6 separate regions of the Homo sapiens genome follow, and regions 1, 2, 3, 5 and 6 are each linked to region 4. The links are contacts of gene promoters, found by promoter capture Hi-C in human tissues and cell types (Jung and others, 2019). All regions are on one chromosome and are shown on one strand. Each heading gives the region's core, a stretch centred on a gene start or on the middle of the fragment in contact. The rest is flanking DNA. Distances are from core to core; before and after follow the strand shown. Region 1 holds the start of NTHL1 (nth like DNA glycosylase 1). Region 2 overlaps TRAF7 (TNF receptor associated factor 7). Region 3 holds the start of DNASE1L2 (deoxyribonuclease 1 like 2). Region 4 holds the start of ATP6V0C (ATPase H+ transporting V0 subunit c). Region 5 overlaps FLYWCH1 (FLYWCH-type zinc finger 1). Region 6 overlaps ELOB (elongin B).

Region 1 (3,660 bases), core at 632-3,131, 470 kb before region 4:
GTCCTGACCTGCTGAGTGGCTACAGTGATGCAGGCGATGCTCTGGGGCACCGGGTGTCCATCCTCCCAAGGTGCTGTCTGCAGGGGAGGGTGCCAGCCAAAAGCCACCGGGTAGAAAGAAAACAAGGACCTTGCTAAGATGGGGGGTCATCTGGGCAGATGGGGCCCCTGCCTACCTTTGGGGGGGCACTGGAGTCATAGCAGTGCTCAGTCCCCAGATGGTCCACAGGTGCATCCTTTTTGTTCCTCATGGCACGGATGTTGACCAGCTGTTGCTGCCAGTCCTGGGGCTCCCAGACTGGCACCTTGAGGGGCTCAGCCCCCTCACCTTTCTCACTGTCCGAGCCCTCATAGGCCACACGCAGTCTCTGTGCTTTCCGCGGACGCTTCACGGGGCTGTGGCTTTTCCTCGCTTCTGCAAAAAGCACCACGCAGTCCCTCTGGTGGGGCCACAGGTGAAGGTAGGGTAGGGGTGCCATCCCGCCTGCTAGCTCACCCCTCACTCGTTCATGCCACAACTGTCCATCATCTAATACACTTGGGGTGCTCTGCCCTCTGCAGTCTGGGGTATGTGGGCCCTCCTTATGCCAGCGACCCTGACAAGGTCCATGTTAGCTCATGAGGACTCTAGCAACAGCCTGTACCAAGGTGCCCCCAATACATCTTCTATACTGCACCAGAGACAGTCTGCTAACACCCACATCAGGTTGTGTCACTCCCTTTTAAAAAATCCTGGCCGGCCGGGCGCGGTGGATCAAGCCTGTAATCCCAGCACTTTGGGAGGCCGAGGTGGGTGGATCACTTGAGGTCAGGAGTTCAAGACCAGCCTGGCCAATATGGCAAAACCCCATCTCTACTAAAAATACAAAAGTTAGCCGGGTGTGGTGGCAGGGGCCTATAGTCTCAGCTACTTGGGAGGCTGAGGCAGGAGAACTGCTTGAACCTGGGGGGCGGAGGTTGCAGTGAGCTGAGATCACAACACTCCACTACAGCCTGGGTGACAGAGCAAGACCCGATCTCAAAACAAACAACAAAACCTCCTAATTGACTTCCGTTTACTGTCATAATAAACTCCAAACTCTATCCTGGCATCAAAGCTCCTGCCACCCTGGCTGGCATCACCACCTGCCTGCTCCCAGCTGCACCAGTTCCTCCTGACATAGTCTGGACTACCCCTGGGGTCCCTGGGTGCCTATGGGAATCCAGCTCTGGCCAATTCTGCAGAAGTCCCAGCGGGACTAGCGCAGAGGCCCTGTCCGTGTCCCTCACTGCTCACTGCAGTGCTTGGCCCCCAGCAGGTCCTCAACGGCTGCAGGATAAATATAATAAGTGCCATGCCCTTTCCTGTTTTCCCTCAGAGGCACCCTCCCCCGAGCTGGGGGAGCAGGCTTCTGGCTGCGTGTGTCCTTGGCACCCAGCCTCTCCGAGGACAGCAAGTTCACTGCAGGAGGGCGGGGATGGGACCCACAGAGCCTGGAGTGGAGAGTCCCGGACAGAGTGGTGGGAAAGGAAGCGTTTTCTTGCTTGGGGCGAAAGGGGGCAGCGGAGCGGAGCGCCCGAAACCCAGCCCCTGCGGACCGCAATCTTTGGGAAAAAGGCGCAAGGTGGGAACGCAGGGCCGCACGTGGGAACCGTTCGCGGCTGCCGGGTTTGCAGCCCCTGCCCGCGCAGCTGGGAGCCGCAGGAGGCGGCCCGGGACTCCAGCCTGCAGCCCCTATCCCGCCTCCTCCCACGCTCCAGCCACGGCGCGGCGCTACCTGCTGCAGCCTCTCTTCTCCGGAGAGGCCCGGGCTCCTCCCTACACCCCCGCGGCCCAGCCCCGGGTCCCAGGCTCCGGCTCCGGGTCAGCATCCTCGCGCTCAAGGCGGTCATGCCGGACTCCTGCGGACTACACATCCCGGCGGCCCATGCGGCCCCGTCACGTGATGCAAGGATCGCCGGCCTTTCCGCCAGAGGGCGGCACAGAACTACAACTCCCAGCAAGCTCCCAAGGCGGCCCTCCGCGCAATGCCGCTACCGGAAGTGCGGGTCGCGCTTCCGGCGGCGTCCCGGGGCCAGGGGGGTGCGCCTTTCTCCGCGTCGGGGCGGCCCGGAGCGCGGTGGCGCGGCGCGGGGTAAGTGGCGGTCCCCACGGGGCAAGTGGCGGTCCCCACGGGGCAGCGGCCTAGAGAGGCGGACCCCGCAGTGTCCGGGTCCCGGGCCCTCACCCGCGCCCACTGCAACCCGACTCCGGAGCTCCGAGCATCCCTTAGTTTTAAGTCATGGCGGGTGCGAACGGGTCTCTGCTGCAGGCGGCTCCGTGACAGCTCCTGCTTCACATGGGTAGAGGAGAGACGGCAAACGTCGGGGCTCCCAGGACTTCGCGGCGGCAGTCCTAACCCGTGCACTGAGTCGGGCGGGGCGGGCGGCAGCGTCTGAGTAGAGAGCTCTCTAGACCAGGCCTGGTGTCTCCCGGGCTTTCCTAGGTGCCTGTTTGCGAGCTGGTCAGCTGGGCTGTAGTTGAGTTCTCCCAGGGAGTGTGGGAGGAAAGGTTATGCCCACCAGAGACCCAGGGTCCTGACGGCTGGAGGTCCGCAGTGGGGAAGGTGGGCAGAGGTGTTGCTCAGATGTCCCCATTCCTGTTTCGTTTGCACAGAGGGGTTTTCTGGTGCGTCCTGGTCCACCATGGCCAAACCAACAAGCAAAGATTCAGGCTTGAAGGAGAAGTTTAAGATTCTGTTGGGACTGGGAACACCGAGGCCAAATCCCAGGTCTGCAGAGGGTAAACAGACGGAGTTTATCATCACCGCGGAAATACTGAGAGTGAGTGAGCTACCTGTGTCTTTGCTAGGCTAGAGGGAAATGCAGAGAAGGCTGGGTTTGGTCTTGCACCAGGTTCTGTGGGAGACGGGTTGCTGGCAACTGTCTACACAGGAATGCTGTCTCCAGTACTTGGAGGCCGACATGTCCTTCCTCAGGAGACTTCGAAAGTCAGGATCTTGGTGACCTGGTTCAGGCACACTTGAGTTACTATTCAGATGTTGATGAAAGAAAGCCCATCTTATAGATGAGGCCTGAGTATCATCATCTTCACAGGTAAGGATATGTCCAGGTGTTACATGATAAGATGTGAGTTCCTGGGAGAAGTAGGTTCTTTATTTTATTTTTTTTTTGAGACTGAGTCTTGCTCTGTTGCCTAGGCTGGAGTGCAGTGGCACAATCTCTGCTCGCTGCTACCTCTGCCTCCCAGTTTCAAGTGGTTCTCCTGCCTCAGCCTCCTGAGTAGCTGGGACTACAGACACGTGCCACCACACCCATTTAATTTTTGTATTTTTAGTAGAGATGGAGTTTCACTATCTTGGCCAGGCTGGTCTTGAACTGCTGACCTCAGGTGATCTGCCCGCTTTGGCCTCCCAAAGTGCTGGGATTACAGGCATGAGCCATCGCACATGGGCTAGGTCGTTATCTTTTATGTGTGTTTGTGTCTTTGTCACACATGCCTGGCATTGTGTTTTGCCCATGAGTAAATGCTGAATTTTTGCACTTGTAAAGTTTTCTACTTAGAAACAACTAAAACGTTCATCAACTGATGAATAAAATATAGTCCATCCTGGCTGGGTGCGGTGGCTCACGCCTGTCATCCCAGCACTTTGGGAGGCCGAGGCGGGTGGATCACCTGAGG
Region 2 (3,640 bases), core at 452-2,951, 350 kb before region 4:
GCGTCCCGCCACGTGGGCCACACCCTGGGCCTACCCACCAAGGCCCAGCCTTGGCCCCAGGGACATTCAGCCTGGAGGTGACTGGCTGTGACTCAGGACCCAGAGGAGTAGAGGGAGCCAGGCAGGGGTCCCTCCACCTCGGGGAAGAGCTGGATGGGCTCTTCGGGAGCTCAGAAAGGCTAAGCCTTGAGGGACGGTGACGCAGAGCCGCCTGCCTGCCCGGGCCTCTGCATACCTGGGATCGGGGTGAAGGACCTTTGCCTCCTAGAGGCCTGCCTGAGCCGGGGCTGGTGGTGGAAGGCTGCTGCGGCGGCCCCACGGTGCCCCACAGCAGGTCTGCACACTTGCAGCAGCCCGTCTGACTCACAGGGGCCTGGGCTCCATCTCTCAAGCCCCTCATTTGTGCTCCACCCACAGGAGGTGCTTCCCAAGGACCGTAGATGCCTCTCTAGAGCATGAGCTCAGGCAAGAGTGCCCGCTACAACCGCTTCTCCGGGGGGCCCAGCAATCTTCCCACCCCAGACGTCACCACAGGGGTAAGGGTGTGCCCCTCTGCAAGCCCAACATCCCCAGGACCCCCAGCATGCCCCAGGGATCTGGTGTTGCCTGCAGAGCTCCCAGCGCAGTCCCGTCCCGAGCTGGGGTCTCAGGGGAGCTCGGTGGGGGGGGGTGTGGTGTGTGTGTGTGTGTGTGTGCGCGCGCGCGCGCGCGCGCGCACGCGTGCGTGTGTGGTTGGGGCGTGTTAGTGCTGTGTGGCGCGGCCTGGTTGCATGGTTAAGCGTGTGAGTGCTGCGTGGCGCGGCCTGGTCGCATGGTTAAGCGTGTGAGTGCTGCGTGACCTGGCCTGGTCGCATGGTAAAGCGTGTTAGTGCTGCGTGGCGCGGCCTGGTTGCATGGTTAAGCGTGTTAGTGCTGCGTGGTGCGGCCTGGTCGCATGGTTAAGCGTGTGAGTGCTGCGTGGCCTGGCCTGGTCGCATGGTTAAGCGTGTTAGTGCTGCGTGGCCTGGCCTGGTCGCATGGTTAAGCGTGTGAGTGCTACGTGGCCTGGCCTGGTCGCATGGTTAAGCGTGTGAGTGCTGCGTGGCCTGGCCTGGTCGCATGGTTAAGCATGTTAGTGCTACGTGGCGCGGCCTGGTCGCATGGTTAAGCGTGTTAGTGCTGCGTGGCGCGGCCTGGTCGCATGGTTAAGCGTGTGAGTGCTGTGTGGCGCGGCCTGGTTGCATGGTTAAGCGTGTGAGTGCTGCGTGGCGCGGCCTGGTCGCATGGTTAAGCGTGTGAGTGCTGCGTGGCCTGGCCTGGTCGCATGGTTAAGCGTGTTAGTGCTGCGTGGCCTGGCCTGGTCGCATGGTTAAGCGTGTGAGTGCTGTGTGGCGCAGCCTGGTCGCATGGTTAAGCGTGTGAGTGCTGCGTGGCCTGGCCTGGTCGCATGGTTAAGCGTGTTAGTGCTGCGTGGCCTGGCCTGGTCGCATGGTTAAGCGTGTGAGTGCTGTGTGGCGCAGCCTGGTCGCATGGTTAAGCGTGTGAGTGCTGCGTGGCCTGGCCTGGTCGCATGGTTAAGCGTGTGAGTGCTGCATGGCCTGGCCTGGTCGCATGCTGAAGCGTGTGAGTGCTGCATGGCCTGGCCTGGTCGCATGGTTAAGCGTGTGAGTGCTGCGTGGCCTGGCCTGGTCGCATGCTGAAGCGTGTGAGTGCTGCGTGGCCTGGCCTGGTCGCATGGTTAAGCGTGTGAGTGCTGCATGGCCTGGCCTGGTCGCATGGTTAAGCGTGTTAGTGCTACGTGGCGCGGCCTGGTCGCATGGTTAAGCGTGTTAGTGCTGCGTGGCGCGGCCTGGTCGCATGGTTAAGTGTGTGAGTGCTGTGTGGCGCGGCCTGGTCGCATGGTTAAGCGTGTGAGTGCTGCGTGGCGCGGCCTGGTCGCATGGTTAAGCGTGTGAGTGCTGCGTGGCCTGGCCTGGTCGCATGGTTAAGCGTGTTAGTGCTGCGTGGCCTGGCCTGGTCGCATGGTTAAGCGTGTGAGTGCTGTGTGGCGCAGCCTGGTCGCATGGTTAAACGTGTGAGTGCTGCGTGGCCTGGCCTGGTCGCATGGTTTAGCGTGTTAGTGCTGCGTGGCCTGGCCTGGTCGCATGGTTAAGCGTGTGAGTGCTGTGTGGCGCAGCCTGGTCGCATGGTTAAGCGTGTGAGTGCTGCGTGGCCTGGCCTGGTCGCATGGTTAAGCGTGTTAGCGCTGCGTGGCGCGGCCTGGTCGCATGATTAAGCGTGTGAGTGCTGCGTGGCGTGGCCTGGTCGCATGGTTAAGTGTGTGAGTGCTGCGTGGCCTGGCCTGGTCGCGTGTTAGGCATGTGAGTGGGCTCCACATGTGCACGTCCTCCTTGTGTCCCGGAATGAGGCCAGGTCTCCTCCGTCCTCCCTCTAGACCAGAATGGAAACGACCTTCGGACCCGCCTTTTCAGCCGTCACCACCATCACAAAAGGTGAGCCCTTAAGCCAAGGCCAGCCCAGGCTGGGAATAACCGGGGCACCCCCATGCCCACCCTGCTAAGGACTGAGGGACACTTCCCGGTGAGCTGGTGTTGGGTGCCAGTGCTGGGCGCGGGCAGCCTCACACCGCAGCCTGTGTCCTCACAGCCTCTCAGCCCTGGGCCTCCCCACTGGACAGGAGTCGGGTGTCCTGCTCCTTGTGCCTCGGTGACTGTGCTGTGCCCTCTCTCCCTGCCCTCTTCATCCCCTCTAGGGAGGCTTGCCCTGACATCTCCAGCACCACCACACAGCCCTGTCCCTTGTCACAGTGATCCCCAGCTTGTCCCCAGTCTCAGGCTCCTGGCCAGCCTCCGAAAGGTCCCGTGTGCCCGGAGGTCTTCTCTTGAGTTTGGCCCTAGGGCTTCAGTAACAGTGCTGCAGTTGTGACATGTTAATAGGAAGGGAGGGAGAGTGGAAGAGATCCATAAGTCTGGTTTGTTTTTTTGAGACGGGTGTCACTCTGTCACCCAAGCTGGAATGCAGTGGCGCAATCTTGGCTCACTGCAACCTGTGCCTCCTGGGATCAGTCCTGCCACCTCAGCCTCCCAGGTAGCTGGGACCACAGGCACCACCACACCTGGCTAATTTTTTTTATGTTTGGTAGAGATGAGGTCTCACCATGTTGCCCAGGATGGTCTCAAATTCCTGGGCTCACGTGATCCTCCTGCCTTGGCCTCCCAAAGTGCTGGAATTACAGGCATGAGCCAGCAAGCCAAGCCCAATAAATCTTCACCTGCACAAGACCACTGGGCGGGATACACGACAGAAACCTGAAGCTTCCCTGCTGCTTCTCAGTCCTATCCCCTAAAAACCAGAGTGCTGCGCTTTGAACGCAAGCGCCGTGCTCAGGGAGACCATGCGGAAGTGGCAGTGCCTTCTTCCCGAGGTGCAGGGCCAGGGACCCTCATTCCGGGGTGGGGTTCTGGGGTGACTTTGTTCTCTCTCCTTTCTGGCACTCTGCCCTTTGTAGAAGCACACTGGCTGCTAATTAGCTTTTTAATTGCTCTGATAAACCTGGCCATGGGGTCATAGGGCCGCCAAGGACACCTGCTTACAGTAGCGCCTCTTTGCTGCTGGTGATCCCCTCAGGGGCTCTCCAGGGGCCCTCTTTTTTTTTCTAATC
Region 3 (3,214 bases), core at 631-3,130, 280 kb before region 4:
CTGACAGGTGTCTCCACAGAACGCACAGCAGGTGCACTTCAGGACACACCTGGAGGAGAAGCCGCACGTGTGCCAGTTCTGCAGCCGTGGCTTCCGAGAGAAGGGCTCACTGGTGCGGCACGTGCGACACCACACAGGCGAGAAGCCGTTCAAGTGCTACAAGTGCGGCCGTGGCTTCGCCGAGCACGGCACGCTGAACCGGCACCTGCGCACCAAAGGTCTGGGCCGGTGGAGGTGGGAGGGGGAGGGGAGGGGGCCGGGGCTTGCCTAGCCCTGACCGAGTCCCCACCCACAGGGGGCTGCCTGCTGGAGGTGGAGGAGTTGCTGGTGTCTGAGGACAGCCCCGCGGCAGCCACCACCGTCCTCACGGAAGACCCGCACACAGTGTTGGTGGAGTTCTCGTCCGTGGTAGCTGACACCCAGGAGTATATCATCGAGGTGGGTGTGGGGCCCTGGGGCCGTGCTGGGACCCAGGGGCAGCCAAGGCTGACCTCTGTCCTTCTGCCCATCTGCCCAGGCCACTGCGGACGATGCGGAGACCAGTGAGGCCACGGAGATCATCGAGGGCACCCAGACAGAGGTGAGGGGTAGGGCAGGCGGGGGCGGGGAGGCTCCCTGGCACAGCCGCTCTTGCTGAGCCGTGGCCCTGCAGGTGGACAGCCACATCATGAAGGTGGTGCAGCAGATCGTGCACCAGGCTAGCGCCGGCCACCAGATCATCGTGCAGAACGTCACCATGGACGAGGAGACGGCGCTGGGCCCAGAGGCGGCTGCCGCCGACACCATCACCATCGCCACCCCCGAGAGCCTGACAGAGCAGGTGGCCATGACGCTGGCCTCGGCCATCAGCGAGGGCACTGTGCTTGCCGCCCGGGCAGGGACAAGTGGCACTGAACAGGCCACTGTGACCATGGTGTCATCAGAGGACATCGAGATCCTGGAGCATGCAGGCGAGCTGGTCATCGCCTCGCCGGAGGGCCAGCTGGAGGTGCAGACGGTCATCGTCTAGCATGAGGTCTGCGGGGTCCTGGCCGGGCAGGGACAGGGCAGAGGACTCTGAGCGCCCCACCCATGCCTGCCTGGCCTGGTAGAGAAGATGGCACAGGATGGAGGCGCCCCAAGACGGACAGTGTACATAAGAGTTTCTTGTTGCTTTACAATAAAACATGAGAACCTGCAGCTTGTGATGTTGTGGCAGTGGCAGCCTCCGCGGCTGGTGCCACCACCTTTGCCCAGGCCCCCGCAGCAGCACCTGCCTCCCAGGCCACTCCTAGACTCACGTGCCTGGCCGCCCCACCCAGGGGCTTCTGCCAGCCCTGGCGGCGCCTTGGTGCTGTGTGGGTGTCATTGGCATGTTGACCAACAGCCTCCTGCCCTGCCCAGCTGGAGCTGTGCCCCCAGCTGCGCTGCCTGAGGCCTGTGGGTGGGTGGGAGGACCAGGGACGGGGACAGGGAGATCTGGGAGCCTCGGCCTCCACCGCAGGGTGAGCAGGTGGAGCAGCAGCAGGAGATGCTGGGTAGGGAGTGTGGCTGGTCCTACCTGCGCTGCCTTGCTTTCCCTGAAGGGATTCTGCTCAGGGAGGCAGAGTCTAGGCGACCTAATTTCTAGGGGCGAGGACAAGAACACAGCCGCACCGGGATGTGGCTGACCGTCTACCTCCCTCCTAGGGGGCTGGCAGGGGCTTCTGGGACGGTTTTGGGACAGGTCTGGGGCACCAGAACCGGCTCAGGCAGGTCTCCCACCCCTTACCCTGGGGGTCTCCATGGGAATGAAAGCCAGGAGTTCATCAGGCACCCAGCTGAGTCGAGGGGGCGGGACCCAGTGCAGCCCGGCCCCTCCCTGGCCCAGGACCTCAAATACCGGCCCCTGCCTTGGTGCCAGAGCTACTGCCAGAGGGAGTCAGTGCAGTCCTGTGTCGGACACGCCCGCAGCCTGGACCCGGGATCCCCATCCCCCTAGGATCTCTGAGCCTCGGGCCTCTGCACCCACATCCAAGGTGAGTCTCTCGGCTGCCCTGAGCTGGGGCTGGATGGGCCGGACCCTCCATTCCGGCTGCAGCTTCCCGCGCAGTGAGAAGGCAGCGGTCCCTGAGAGCCCAGCAGTGCCCTGGGAGCCTGCAGAACGCAGGGGCGGATTCCGCGTCGCACTGGCCGTCAAGGGGCGGCCGCGGAGGGAAGGGGTGGGTCGGTGGGTCTGACAGCGGGTCTGCGTAGGCGGCAGCGTCTGTCCCTCCCAGCCTCTCGCTCCGCGCCATGGGCGGGCCCCGGGCTCTGCTGGCCGCACTCTGGGCGCTGGAAGCCGCCGGGACCGCCGCGCTTCGCATCGGAGCCTTCAACATTCAGAGCTTCGGTGACAGCAAAGTGTCGGACCCCGCTTGCGGCAGCATCATCGCGAAGGTGGGGCCCGGGCCGGGGCGGGGCGGCGTTTAGGGGTGCTGACCGCGCTGACCCCCGCACCCGCCGCTCCTCCCCAGATCCTGGCTGGCTATGACCTCGCGCTGGTGCAGGAGGTGCGAGACCCAGACCTCAGCGCCGTGTCCGCGCTCATGGAGCAGATCAACAGGTGTGGTGGGCAGGGCCCCTCGTCGCGACCCCCCGCCGGGATCTCGCCCCGGCGCGGCGCCCCGACCCTGAGCGGGCCCCTGTCTCCGCAGCGTGTCCGAGCACGAGTACAGCTTTGTGAGCAGCCAGCCCCTGGGCCGGGACCAGTACAAGGAGATGTACCTGTTCGTGTACAGGTGAGGGGCGGGCCGCAGGGAGGGGCGCGCGGGGCCGCAGGTCGGGGGCTCAGCGGGTCCTCCCCATCTCCTAGGAAAGACGCGGTGTCGGTCGTGGACACCTACCTGTACCCAGACCCCGAGGACGTCTTCAGCCGCGAGCCCTTCGTGGTCAAGTTCTCGGCCCCCGGCACCGGTGAGCGGGCCCCGCCCCTCCCCTCCCGCCGAGCTCTGACGCCCCCACCCCTTCCCGCAGCAGCACAGAACCTGGTGCTGATCCCGCTGCACGCGGCGCCGCATCAAGCCGTGGCGGAGATCGACGCGCTCTACGACGTGTACCTGGACGTGATCGACAAGTGGGGCACCGACGTAAGCCCACCCCTCGGTCCCGGGGTCCCTGCAGGCGCGCCCCGGGGGTCTGGTTCATGAGGGCGGGACCTCGACGGCTCCTGCGGCGGCTCAGACACGGCTCCGCGGCGCCCGCAGGACATGCTGTT
Region 4 (3,428 bases), core at 747-3,246:
GTTGCCCAGGCTGGTCTTAAACTCCTGGGATCAAGCAATCCTCCTGCCTCGGCCTCCCACAGTGCTGGGATTACAGGCGGGAGCCACCGTGCCCAGCCCACCCCTGAGCTTGGACTGTGCTGTTTCTCCATGGTGGGCTGCTCTGCGCCACCTTTCCTTGGTCTGAATTCGGCCCCAGGCACAGCCTTCCTGGCCTAGGCTTTCCTGGAGGGCTTGGAGTTATGGGGGCAGGCACTGGTGTTGCTCTCACTCAGAGGGCGGTCGGGGCTGGAATGGTGCAGGTGAGGGACAAGACGGCGTAAGATGGGGGACAAAGCCAGGGAAAGGATGGGATCAAGCAGGGGAAGGGCAGAGCTAGGGGTAGCCCTGGGTATGCCAGGACCTGCAGCAAAATTGGGGCTACAGGGCCTTGTGACTCCAGGAAGAATGAGGGCGTCTGAGATTTAGGAAGTCCGCAGGAGAGAGGAGAGTGTGTGGAGAGGGTGGCAGGCCACGCAGCACAGAGGTCCACTTGGACAGCCTGACAGATGTCCTTCTGCTTAGAGAAATGGCGGTCACCAGTGACCTTGGCAAGGGCAAGGAGCTGGAGAGGGAAGGGCAGGTGAGGAGGTGGAGACAGAGTGAAGATTCGTCTTCTCAGAAACAAGGGCCGGGCAAGAAAGAGGGAGGAGCAGAAAGGGCCTCTGGCCGTATCTGTTGCCTCCTCTCCTTTGAACCAGGACAGACTTAGGGACTTTCACGGGCTGCAAGTTCCAAGAGTGGCAGACCCAGGCTAGCCTGGGGAAGGGGCTTGAGGGAGGCTCCTGCTGGGGAAGGTGGGGCTGAGTCCAGCAGGAGGGCCAGACCAGGGGCCATGACCCCATTGCCTACATAGAGAAGGTGATGAGCCAGCATCCAGGCTACTCAGGGAGAGCTCTAACCCAGGATGAGGCCTTAGAGCTCAAAGGACACTCAGGCCTGGTGGCAGCTGCCCAGGGCCCCTGAAAGGGGGAATGGAGATCAGGCAGAGGGGGTGCCAGGGACTGCCACACAGGATCAGTAGGGCAGCGCCAGCCCTGGCTGGGCTGCTTTCACGGCTGCGGGAACCGCTCCAACTGCTCCAGAAAGACAGAAAGATGGCCCTGAAGGTGCAGGCTTTGCGTGAGTGGGTGGCTGCAAGGACAGGTGGGAGGACCAGGACGCCAGAACGTGCAGAGCCCGGGGGGCCTCCAGAGGTCGCAGTTCCGACAGGGCTTCCACCAGTCATGCCTACATCTTGAGGGGCAGAGACACACCCCACTAATGTTTGGGTCCCTGATGCAAAGGCAGAGACAGGTGCGGGGAGGGGGTCCTTTTTCTCCGAAGCGAGAGGTGAAGTCACCAACTGCTGGGTCAGAGGCAGTAGGTCTGGGTCTGGAGGAGACTGGGGACAGGGTGGAGGGAGGTGACCGCAGCCACGGGCTGGGACTTCACAGGTGTGGGCTGGGGGCTTTTCCGGACGCTGTGGCAGAGGAGGCCCGCGCGCCGCACATCTGCTGGGACCCTTAGCTCGCCCAGGATTGGTAGGGAGATCCTGGAAGACCAGCGCCCGGAGGGGTGAGGCCCCGTCTTGGGGGCAAGGCCGCGAAACCACGGCCTGCAGCTTCACGCCAGGGGTACAAAGAAAAGCGTCGCCGGGAACCCAACACCTGCAGACGACGCGCAGCCGCAGAGGAGGCGGGGCGTCCGAGGCCCCGCCCCGTATGCTAATGAAGCACACACCACACCGCCCCGCCCCGGCGCGAGACCGGTCCAACGCTGCGGAGATCCAGAGGCCGGCGGCGCCCGGAAACACCCGCGGAGGCCGAGGCAGGGCGGGGCCGGGCGCCGGGGCCGGGTCGCTGGGCGGGCGGCACAGCCCGGGGGAGGTCAACGGGCCGGCCGGGCGTCCCGGGGACGCGTCTCCCCCACGGTGCGAAGTGGTACGGCTCGCAGGGGCGGGGCCCAGGTCATGTGACGCGGCCGCGGCCGCCATTTTGTTCTGCGGTGCTGGTATTTAGAGCGCAGCGGCTGACGGGCCGGATCGCCTTCGCCGCCGCCCGCCCGCAAACCTTCGTGCCCGGCCCGTCCTCGCCCCCGCCTCCGCCACCGCCTCGGCCCGCAGAGCTTGCCCCCTCCCCACCCGCAGACATGTCCGAGTCCAAGAGCGGCCCCGAGTATGCTTCGTTTTTCGCCGTCATGGGCGCCTCGGCCGCCATGGTCTTCAGCGGTGAGCGCGGCGGCGGGAGGGACTCGGGGGCGGGGGCGCGCGCGTTGCTCATGCCCGCAGCTCGCCGGGGTCCGGTGTGTGACGTCACTCTGACGTAATCCCGAGCTGTCGGGGGCGCCCGGGCCTCGTGTGACAGCGGGCGGGGGTCGGCGCCCCGAGGGCTGCGGGGAGCCGCCGGGGGTCCGGGGCGCAGGGCGTGCGGGCCTGGCCGGGGTGTGAGTCTCGGGGGTCCGGGCCGGCGGCCCTGCCAGCCGGGTCGTGCGGTTGCGGGGGTGGGGCGGCGGCGCCGCTGCCATATTAGCCCCGGGAGCGGCGAGAGGGAGGCTGGGGTGGGGGCGCGAGGGGGGCGGCGCGAGGGGGGCCGATTCTGCGGGCAGGTGACATCACACCTCGAAGGCCCCAGTGCGCGGGCGGCGGCGCGGGTCCGGCCCAGGAACGCCCAGCCGGTCGCTGGAGCTTTCCGGCTGGTGGGGAGCCCATGTCCCCCACGGGAGGTCCTCAGCCCTCGCCCTTATGGCGGCCGGCCCCGAGGGTCAGGTGGGTCTCACCCACAGGCAGGTACTTCCGGTTGGAGCTGGTTACAGTTGCCCAATACCCGTGTCGCTGTGTGGGCTGTTTGGGAAAGCTGGGCTGAGGGCTTGGTTCGGAGAGCCCGCGGAGACCCGGGTGGGAGTGTGTGGAAGTGGAGGGAGCGGGGAGACAGCAGCATCGGCGCTGGCGGGGCTGTGTAGCTTGCAGAGGGTCTGTGCTCTGAGGTGGGTGAGAGGGTGGCATGGGTGTCCGAGTTTATGGGATCCAGTCGTTGCCCTCAGGACTGAGGCTTCCAGTTGTGGTCCTAATGAATGGAGGGGTGAATGAATGACCTTCCTTTCCCTCCCTGAGGCCTGAAGTTGGGAGGGGCTTCCCTGGGCTTGGAGAAGGGGCCTTCTAGGGTTCTTGGTGGCACCCTGCTTTTGAAATTGGGCCTTGACAGGTCCTGGGCGTCCAATTTAGTGACAATTGGTCTCCCTGGGAGAATGGCACTTGGGCTAGGGCTAGGCCCAGGAATGTGGGTCCGACGAGTTAAGTTCTGGCCCAGTCTCAGCCTCCGTGGACTGGCCTGGCCTGGTCTGATTTCCGCCTCCGTGGTTAGGTCTGGTTTTAGCTTTGATGACCGTGCCCTGCCCCACCCTGCCTGGTGGCCTGGGGAGGCTCCTAGTGC
Region 5 (3,231 bases), core at 454-2,953, 400 kb after region 4:
CCCAGTAGGCCATCTGGCATTGCACTCAAATTGCTCCGCACCCTCAATTCTGGGAGAAGGGGAGAGAGGACAGGAGAGTGATGCACCATGAACTGAGACTTTGGAGCTTTCCATGCAAATCTGCCGGCCTGTGCTCCATTCACTTAAGAAATCTGTACTGAGTGCAGCCAGGCATGGTGGTTCACGTCTGTAATCCCAGCACTTTGGGAGGCTGAGGTGGGCAGATCACCAGAGGTCAGGAGTTTGAGACCAGCCTGGCTAACATGGTGAAACCCTGTCTATACTAAAAATACAAAAAATTTAGCTGGGCGTGGTGGCGCACACCTGTAATCCCAGCTACTCAGGAGCCTGAGGAGCAGAATCGCTTGAACCTGGTTCAAGGATTCAGCGGAGGTTGCAGTGAGACAGGATCGAGCCACTGCACTCCAGCCTGGGCGACAGAGTGAGACTCTGTCTCAAAAAAAAAAAAAAAAAAAGAAATTTGTACTGAATGAAGATTGAACATTACAAAAGAAACACATTAGGGCCCCTGTATCTACTGTAAAACAATGGGTATCTACTGTAAAAAAAAAAAGCACTTAAACTAGAGTAACAAAAGTTTCTAATTTTTATTAAATGAGATATTTATTGAATTTATTAAATAATATAAATGTATTAAAATATACTCATTTTTATTACATGCACTGAAATTTTTTTTTTTTTTCCTGAGACAGTCTCATTTTGTTGCCTAGGCTGGAGTGCATTGGTGTGATCTTGGCTCACTGCAACCTCCATCTCCCCGGTAGGTTCAGTGAGTTCTGCCTCAGCCTCCTGAGCAGCTGGGATTACAGGCATGCACCACGACCGACTAATTTTTTTGTATTTTTAGTAGAGACAGGGTTTTACCGTGTTGGCCAGGCGGCAAACTGGGATTACAGGCCTGTGCTACCAAGCCCAGCTAATTGTTGTATTTTTAGTAGAGACAGGGTTTCACCATGTTGGCCAGGCCGGTCTCAAACTCCTGAGCTCCACCTTACTGGCTAACGGTAAGTAAAATCTTTAACATGTGTTTGCTTTATATGAGTATAAAAGAATTGTATTTCCTTTGTTTTGGTCTAGGGCACTGTTTTTGAAACTGCTTAGTCATTGGTCCTAAAATCATTAGGTTCCAGTCAGCAATTTTTAAAATTACATGGGCTGGTCGCAGTGGTTCACGCCTGTAATCCCAGCACTTTGAGAGGCCAAGGTGGGCGGATCACGGGAGGCAGAGGCACCAGAATGGCTTGAGCCTGGGAATCGGAGGTTGCAGTTAGCTGAGATCTAGCCACTGCTCCCCAGCCTGGGAGACAGAGCAAGACTCTGTGTCGAGAGAAAAAAAAAAAAAAGAGAGAATCCAAAGAAGAATCTACAAGATTCTAGATCAGGAATATTGAAATGAATGTGCAAATGGAGGCAAAACTGGCCTCTTCTACAGTGGCCAAGGAAACATATTTTTGATTATAAGGCTGATTTCATCATATTTGGCCTGATTATGTAGTGCAGCAATAGTACTGATTCACCAGATAAGCCTACCTGAGTTTGCCTGCCTGGAAGTCTCCATAAGGAAACTTAGACTTTTTAAAGTCTGTTGTTTTGGCCAGGTGCCGTGGCTCACACCTGTAATCCCAGCATTTTGGGAGGCAAAGACGGGCTGATCACTTGAGGTCAGAAGTTCGAGACCAGCCTGGCCAACATGATGAAACCTCATCTCTACTAAAAACAAAAGTTAGCTGGGCGTGTTGGTGCGTGCCTGTAATCCTAGCTACTCAGGAAGCTGAGTCAGGATAATTAACCTAGGAGGCAGAAGTTGCAGTGAGCTGAGATCATGCCACTGTACTCCAGCCTGGGCAACAGAGTGGGACTCCATCTCAAAACAAAAATACAGGCCGGGTGTGGTGGCTCACGCCTGTAATCCCAGCACTTTGGGAAGCTGAGGCAGGCGGATCACGAAGTCAGGAGATAGAGACCATCCTGGCTAACATGGTGAAACCCCGTCTCTACTAACAAAATACAAAAAATTATCCAGGCCTGGTGGCAGGTGCCTGTAGTCTCAGCTACTCTGGAGGCTGAGGCCGGAGAATGGCGTGAACCCAGGAGACAGAGCTTGCAGAGAGCCGAGATCGCACCACTGCACTCCAGCCTGGGTGACAGAGCGAGACTCCATCTCAAAAAAACAAAACAAAACAAAAAATAAAAAAAAGAAAAAAGAAATTTAAAAATTCGTTGTTTGATATCCTGAGACACAGAAGGCAAGTCCAGGATGCTTTCTCCATCAGATTTTACCTGTAGTACTTAAAATTTGGGCAAATTCCTCTCTTCTTGAGGTTCCCCAAAATACCCCTAAGGTTCCTGAAACTTGTTAAATTGCTAATACTTTCAAAAACGAGGAAATCGGCCAGGCATGGTGGCTCACTCCTGTAATCCCAGCTCTTTGGGAGGCCGAGGGGGGTGGATCATGAGGTCAGGAGTTCGAGATTAGCCTGGACAACATGGTGAAACCCCATCTCTAGTAAAAAAAAAAAAAAAAATAACAAAAATTAGCCAGGCGTGGTAGCGCGCACCTGTAATCCCAGCTACTTGGGAGGCTGAGGCAGGAGAATCGCTTGAAACCAGAAGGCAGAAGTTGCAGTGAGCCGAGATCATGCCACTGCACTCCAGCCCAGGTGAAAGAGCGAAACTCTGTCTCAAAAATAAAAAAAAGTAAAAAAAATTTTTAAAAAGCCATGACTTTCCCAATAATACAAAGTAAGCTTGTTAATAATTTTTTTTTTTTTTTTGAGATGGAGTTTTGCTCTTGTCACCCAGGCTGGAGTGCAATGGTGGGATCTCTGCTCACTGCAACTTCCACCTCCCGGGTACAAGCGATTCTCCTGCCTCAGCCTCCCGAGTAGCTGGGATTACAGGCGCCCACCACGACGCCCAGCTAATTTTGTATTTTTAGTAGAGACGGGGTTTTGCCATGTTGGTCAGGCTGGTTTCGAACTCCTGACCTCAGGTGATCCGCCCATCTCAGCCTCCCAAAGTGCTGGGATTACAGGTGTGAGCCACCATGCCCGGCCGTTAATGATTTTCTGTGACATTAATGAGGAAACCTGTATGACATTAAAGAGTAAATGAGATGATGTAGATAAAATACTTCAGGTATTTTAGTGCCCAGCACAAAGCAAACCTCAGGTGTTGCTTAGGTTCGTCGCTTAGCTGCAGTCTTCTGTT
Region 6 (3,578 bases), core at 43-2,542, 260 kb after region 4:
GTCTCCACAGCGCTGACCTCCCTGTTCCAGCTACCCCCGTGGCCCCACGGTAATGTCTCCTACCCCTGTGGGCCCAACCTGAAGGTCCCCAGCCCTTCCCACTGACCATGCTGGGGCCCCTTTCCTCATCTTCCATGTCCACTAGTGAGTCTGAGGGCTCACCATCTGCAGCCAGCATCACCCTTCACCCAGAATATATCTCCTTGTTCCCTTCACACACTTTGGGAGGCCGAGACGGGCAGATCATGAGGTCAGGAGGTCAAGACCATCCTGGCTAGCACGGTGAAACCCCATCTCTACTAAAAATACAAAAAAAAAAAAAAAAAAAAAATTAGCCGGGCATGGTGGCGGGCACCTACAGTCCCAGCTTCTCGGGAGGCTGAGGCAGGAGAATGACGTGAACCCGGGAGGCGGAGCTTGCAGTAGCTGAGATCGCGCCACTGCACTCCAACCTGGGCGACACAGACTCCATCTCAAAAAAAAAAAATCAAACTAGACTATCTAGACTATTCCTCCCCTGCTGAAAACCATCCAGTGGCTTCCCATCATGACCTGAATACCACCAAGTCCTTGCCGTCTGTCTCTCCCTCTGCTTCCCACGCTCTGAGGCTCTGGCTCTCTATGTTCTTCTGTAAGTTCTTTCCTAACTCAGACCTTCGCACTTGCTGGTCCCAGCACTCGGAATGGCTGGCTGCTTCTGGACTTTCAGGGTCCAACTCAGGTCACCTCCTCAGATGAACCTCCAGTCCACGCACCCCCAAAAGTCAAGACATCCTGACACTCTGGGCGTAGGGGCACTTACCACTGGACAAACTGCCCTTTTGACTGGCTCCAGGAAGGCAAAGGCCTTCCCTGTCTTGTCCCTACTGTCACCCCAACACACAGCAAACAAACCCACAGCTTTTCTCCTGTGCTTTCTTCCAGCTAGGAGACCCATCTCTGCTTGGCTCAGGGTTCTCAACTGATCAGGCATCCCAGGGAAAGCTGGAATGCCTGATCACAGTTGTGGCGGTCACAAATGGGGAGGTGGGGTGCCCCAGCGCTATCTAGTGGGTAGAGGCCTGGGATACGGCTCCACGTGCTATGGTGCACAAGGCAACCCACACAGCAATCCAGCCCAATGTGCCCACTGTGCCGAGGTTCAGAAACTAATCCATCTTCCAAGCCACAAACCTGTGACAATTCGTGCCTTCACTACCTCCCTCATTCTTTTGTGATGAGCCGGGACAATGCCCTTTAACATTTGATTTGAAATACTCATCTCCTTGAGTGGTAAGCTTGGGGGAGGGGAGAGGCGGAGGGTGGGGCACCCATTCAAGGCCTGGGAACAACATGATGATGGGTTGAGCTGCACCCAGAAGTGTGTTTCTGCAAGCATTCCATGGGGAAGCAAAGAGCTGACAGCCCATGCTGTGCCCCCTATCAAGACAGCCATCACCTGCAAGAGGGATGATGTGACCTGGGCTCCGGAGTCACCACCACATTCCATGCCATATTAGGGGTTGTGGGAGAAAAACAAGTCACCTTCCTTAGCCTTGATTTTCTCATCTGCAAAATGGGTCTATCAGTATCTTCCAAGTCACAGCAAACCTCTAGGGGTACCACTGTTGAAATTAGAGAAAGGGACACTTCTGGGGGAACACAGCCCAGCTTCGGTTCACGAAGCAGACCAGATATGCTCTTGGCACTCCCTTGCTCTCTTCAGACAGGCACCCCTGGGCCAGGCACCGAGGCTCAGGCCTGTAATCCCAGCACTTTGGGAGGCTGGGATGTATGGATCGCCTGAGGTCAGGAGATTGAGACCAGCCTGACTAACATGGTGAAACCCCATCTCTACTAAAAACACAAAGATTAGCTGGGCGTGGTGGCACATGCCTGTAATCCCAGCTCCTCAGGCCACTGAGGCAAGAGAATCGCTTGAACCCGGGAGGCAGCGGCTGCAGTGGGCTGAGATGGCGCCACTGCACTCCAGCCTAGACAACGGAGTGCGACTCTGTCTCAGAAACAACAACAACAAAAATGCACCCATGTACAAGGCACGACCTGTGTCTATGCCAGCCCTGCACCTGACTCTTAACATCACCATCTGGGCAGAAAGAGCCCACAGAAAGGCTCTGAAGCTTCCCATCTGTTGGGCACTGGCAGCAGGCCAGACCTGGGGTGCATGAGGACTCAACACCACCTTGCTGTGAAGCCAGTCTCATCACACCCCTTTAAGGAGAAGGGAACACTGGGGCCAGGAGGGGCAGGAGGGCAAGGTAGCTGGCCAGAGGATATAGCTGCTGAGACTGAGGCCTAGCCTGAACTTATGGAACGGAAAGGTGGAGCTAGGACTCTACTCTTCCTCTTCAGCCTTTGCTATGTTCCCTTACAGGCAGAAAAATAAGAATTCCTTACAACTTTATCCAAGTTTTCTCAGCCATCCACACAGCTGCTGGGTCCACAGCTGTGAAAACACAGCTCTATAACCTCTCTTCAAGTTCCTAGAGACAAAATATTTTAAATCTCCCCTCCCTTTCTCTTGGGTGGAAGAAGATATCTTGGCGAGTAGTAAACCACTCCCTAATCCCCAGGTTTCTAAAGCTTGGGCAGGGGTGGGGTATGGCTGATGGAAGCCCAGGCTCTGGATCTGAATCCTAGATGTGGCAGTCCCAGCAGATGACCTAACCTCCCCAGGCTCACTTTACTGAACCTGAAAACTGGCAAAATCCAAATCTCAGCCACACAGAGATGCAGAGGGTTTCGGTGATACATAGCATAGAGCCTGGTATGATGTCTGACTCCAGCAAGGGCCCGGCAGTCAGCATCCTAACCGTGGCTCCCTACGTGACTGCTGGTAAGCCTGTGTCCTCATCTGCAGAACACGGATGATGGTATGTGGACTTCCCAGGGCTACTGAGAGGATGAGACAGGGCAGTGGAAGCCACACACAGAGTAACATGCAGAGCACGGAGCCAGGCACTCACTCAGCCTCCTGTAAATGTGAGCTGGCTTCACAAAATAAGCTTTGGTTTCTGTAAGCATCTCATTTGGTTGCTTCTTTTTTAAAAAAAAAAAAATGAGGAAACAAACACATTGTGAAAGGATATTGCCAGCCCTTTAGGCACGAGGAAGACACTGCCCTGAAGGCTTCAACTCCAGGCTCCCTGATGACCTTCTTTGGAACAGTGTTCCCAACCTGCTTGGCTACCACCCAGCCCAGTGGGTGGTGGGCCTCTCACCTGCCCGGAAGGCCAGCCCCACTGTGGCTGGGGCCTGTGGCCGTGCTGTTTGACTGGTGAAGCCACACTCGCCCAGTGTCTTGCCATCATCCAAGAGTTGGTCATCCTGAGGAGAGAAGCAGGATCTTGGGAGAGGCCCTACATGGGGCAAGTCCCAAAGACTTCTGACCAGCAACTACACGGGAAGTCAGAGGAGGGAAGAGAGAGTTCCCTCAGTGTGGCCCAGGACCACCACGCTGCTTGACAAATACACAGATTCCAGGGTTATATCCAAGAACTTCTAAATCAAAACCTCCCAGGGTGGGACTTTAGAATCCGGTTTTATCCAAATTCTCCAGGCAAATCTAATTTGAGGAG

What was found. The method cuts DNA at HindIII sites, captures the fragments that hold promoters and counts their contacts. A contact is called where the count stands out against the background at its distance.
Region 1: a contact is called between the fragment with the promoter of NTHL1 here and the fragment with the promoter of ATP6V0C in region 4, in 2 of the 25 tissues and cell types used here (dorsolateral prefrontal cortex and spleen).
Region 2: a contact is called between a fragment that was not itself captured here and the fragment with the promoter of ATP6V0C in region 4, in 7 of the 25 tissues and cell types used here (H1 embryonic stem cells, dorsolateral prefrontal cortex, lymphoblastoid cells and 4 more).
Region 3: the fragment with the promoter of DNASE1L2 here is called in contact with the fragment with the promoter of ATP6V0C in region 4 in 4 of the 25 tissues and cell types used here (dorsolateral prefrontal cortex, mesendoderm cells, small bowel and 1 more).
Region 5: a contact is called between a fragment that was not itself captured here and the fragment with the promoter of ATP6V0C in region 4, in 2 of the 25 tissues and cell types used here (dorsolateral prefrontal cortex and spleen).
Region 6: a fragment that was not itself captured here is called in contact with the fragment with the promoter of ATP6V0C in region 4 in 1 of the 25 tissues and cell types used here (dorsolateral prefrontal cortex).

What each region holds. Positions count from the first base shown.
Region 1 is chr16:2,045,953-2,049,612 of GRCh38, forward strand. It overlaps NTHL1 (nth like DNA glycosylase 1), which reads right to left and starts at 1,882. Exons shown (of 6, transcript NM_002528.7): 1 at 1,757-1,882; 2 at 176-414. The coding sequence starts at 1,871. TSC2 (TSC complex subunit 2) reads left to right here and starts at 2,033. Exons shown (of 42, transcript NM_000548.5): 1 at 2,033-2,113; 2 at 2,635-2,801. The coding sequence starts at 2,664. RefSeq lists enhancers at 1,286-1,785, 1,377-1,436, 1,887-1,976 and a silencer at 2,067-2,296. The HindIII fragment of the contact is 27,107 bases long and covers 1-3,660 here.
Region 2 is chr16:2,163,466-2,167,105 of GRCh38, forward strand. TRAF7 (TNF receptor associated factor 7) reads left to right here. Exons shown (of 21, transcript NM_032271.3): 2 at 418-536; 3 at 2,414-2,471. The coding sequence starts at 456. Among named protein-coding and RNA genes, the nearest start is that of TRAF7, 9.5 kb to the left of the region's middle. RefSeq lists enhancers at 1-6, 7-506, 916-1,689, 1,690-2,462. The HindIII fragment of the contact is 6,093 bases long and covers 1-3,640 here.
Region 3 is chr16:2,234,564-2,237,777 of GRCh38, forward strand. It overlaps DNASE1L2 (deoxyribonuclease 1 like 2), which reads left to right and starts at 1,881. Exons shown (of 7, transcript NM_001374.3): 1 at 1,881-1,997; 2 at 2,215-2,397; 3 at 2,475-2,563; 4 at 2,655-2,738; 5 at 2,813-3,086; 6 at 3,204-3,214. The coding sequence starts at 2,254. It overlaps E4F1 (E4F transcription factor 1), which reads left to right. Exons shown (of 14, transcript NM_004424.5): 11 at 20-218; 12 at 296-438; 13 at 518-580; 14 at 653-1,179. The coding sequence ends at 1,009. The HindIII fragment of the contact is 25,906 bases long and covers 1-3,214 here.
Region 4 is chr16:2,511,956-2,515,383 of GRCh38, forward strand. ATP6V0C (ATPase H+ transporting V0 subunit c) reads left to right here and starts at 1,997. Exons shown (of 3, transcript NM_001694.4): 1 at 1,997-2,227. The coding sequence starts at 2,149. RefSeq lists an enhancer at 513-807 and silencers at 1,713-2,192, 2,613-2,752. The HindIII fragment of the contact is 15,008 bases long and covers 1-3,428 here.
Region 5 is chr16:2,914,452-2,917,682 of GRCh38, forward strand. All of the region lies in intron 2 of FLYWCH1 (FLYWCH-type zinc finger 1), which reads left to right. Among named protein-coding and RNA genes, the nearest start is that of FLYWCH1, 4.1 kb to the left of the region's middle. The HindIII fragment of the contact is 5,144 bases long and covers 1-3,231 here.
Region 6 is chr16:2,772,230-2,775,807 of GRCh38, forward strand. ELOB (elongin B) reads right to left here. Exons shown (of 4, transcript NM_007108.4): 3 at 3,222-3,327. Among named protein-coding and RNA genes, the nearest start is that of ELOB, 3.3 kb to the right of the region's middle. RefSeq lists a silencer at 840-992. The HindIII fragment of the contact is 3,004 bases long and covers 1-2,794 here.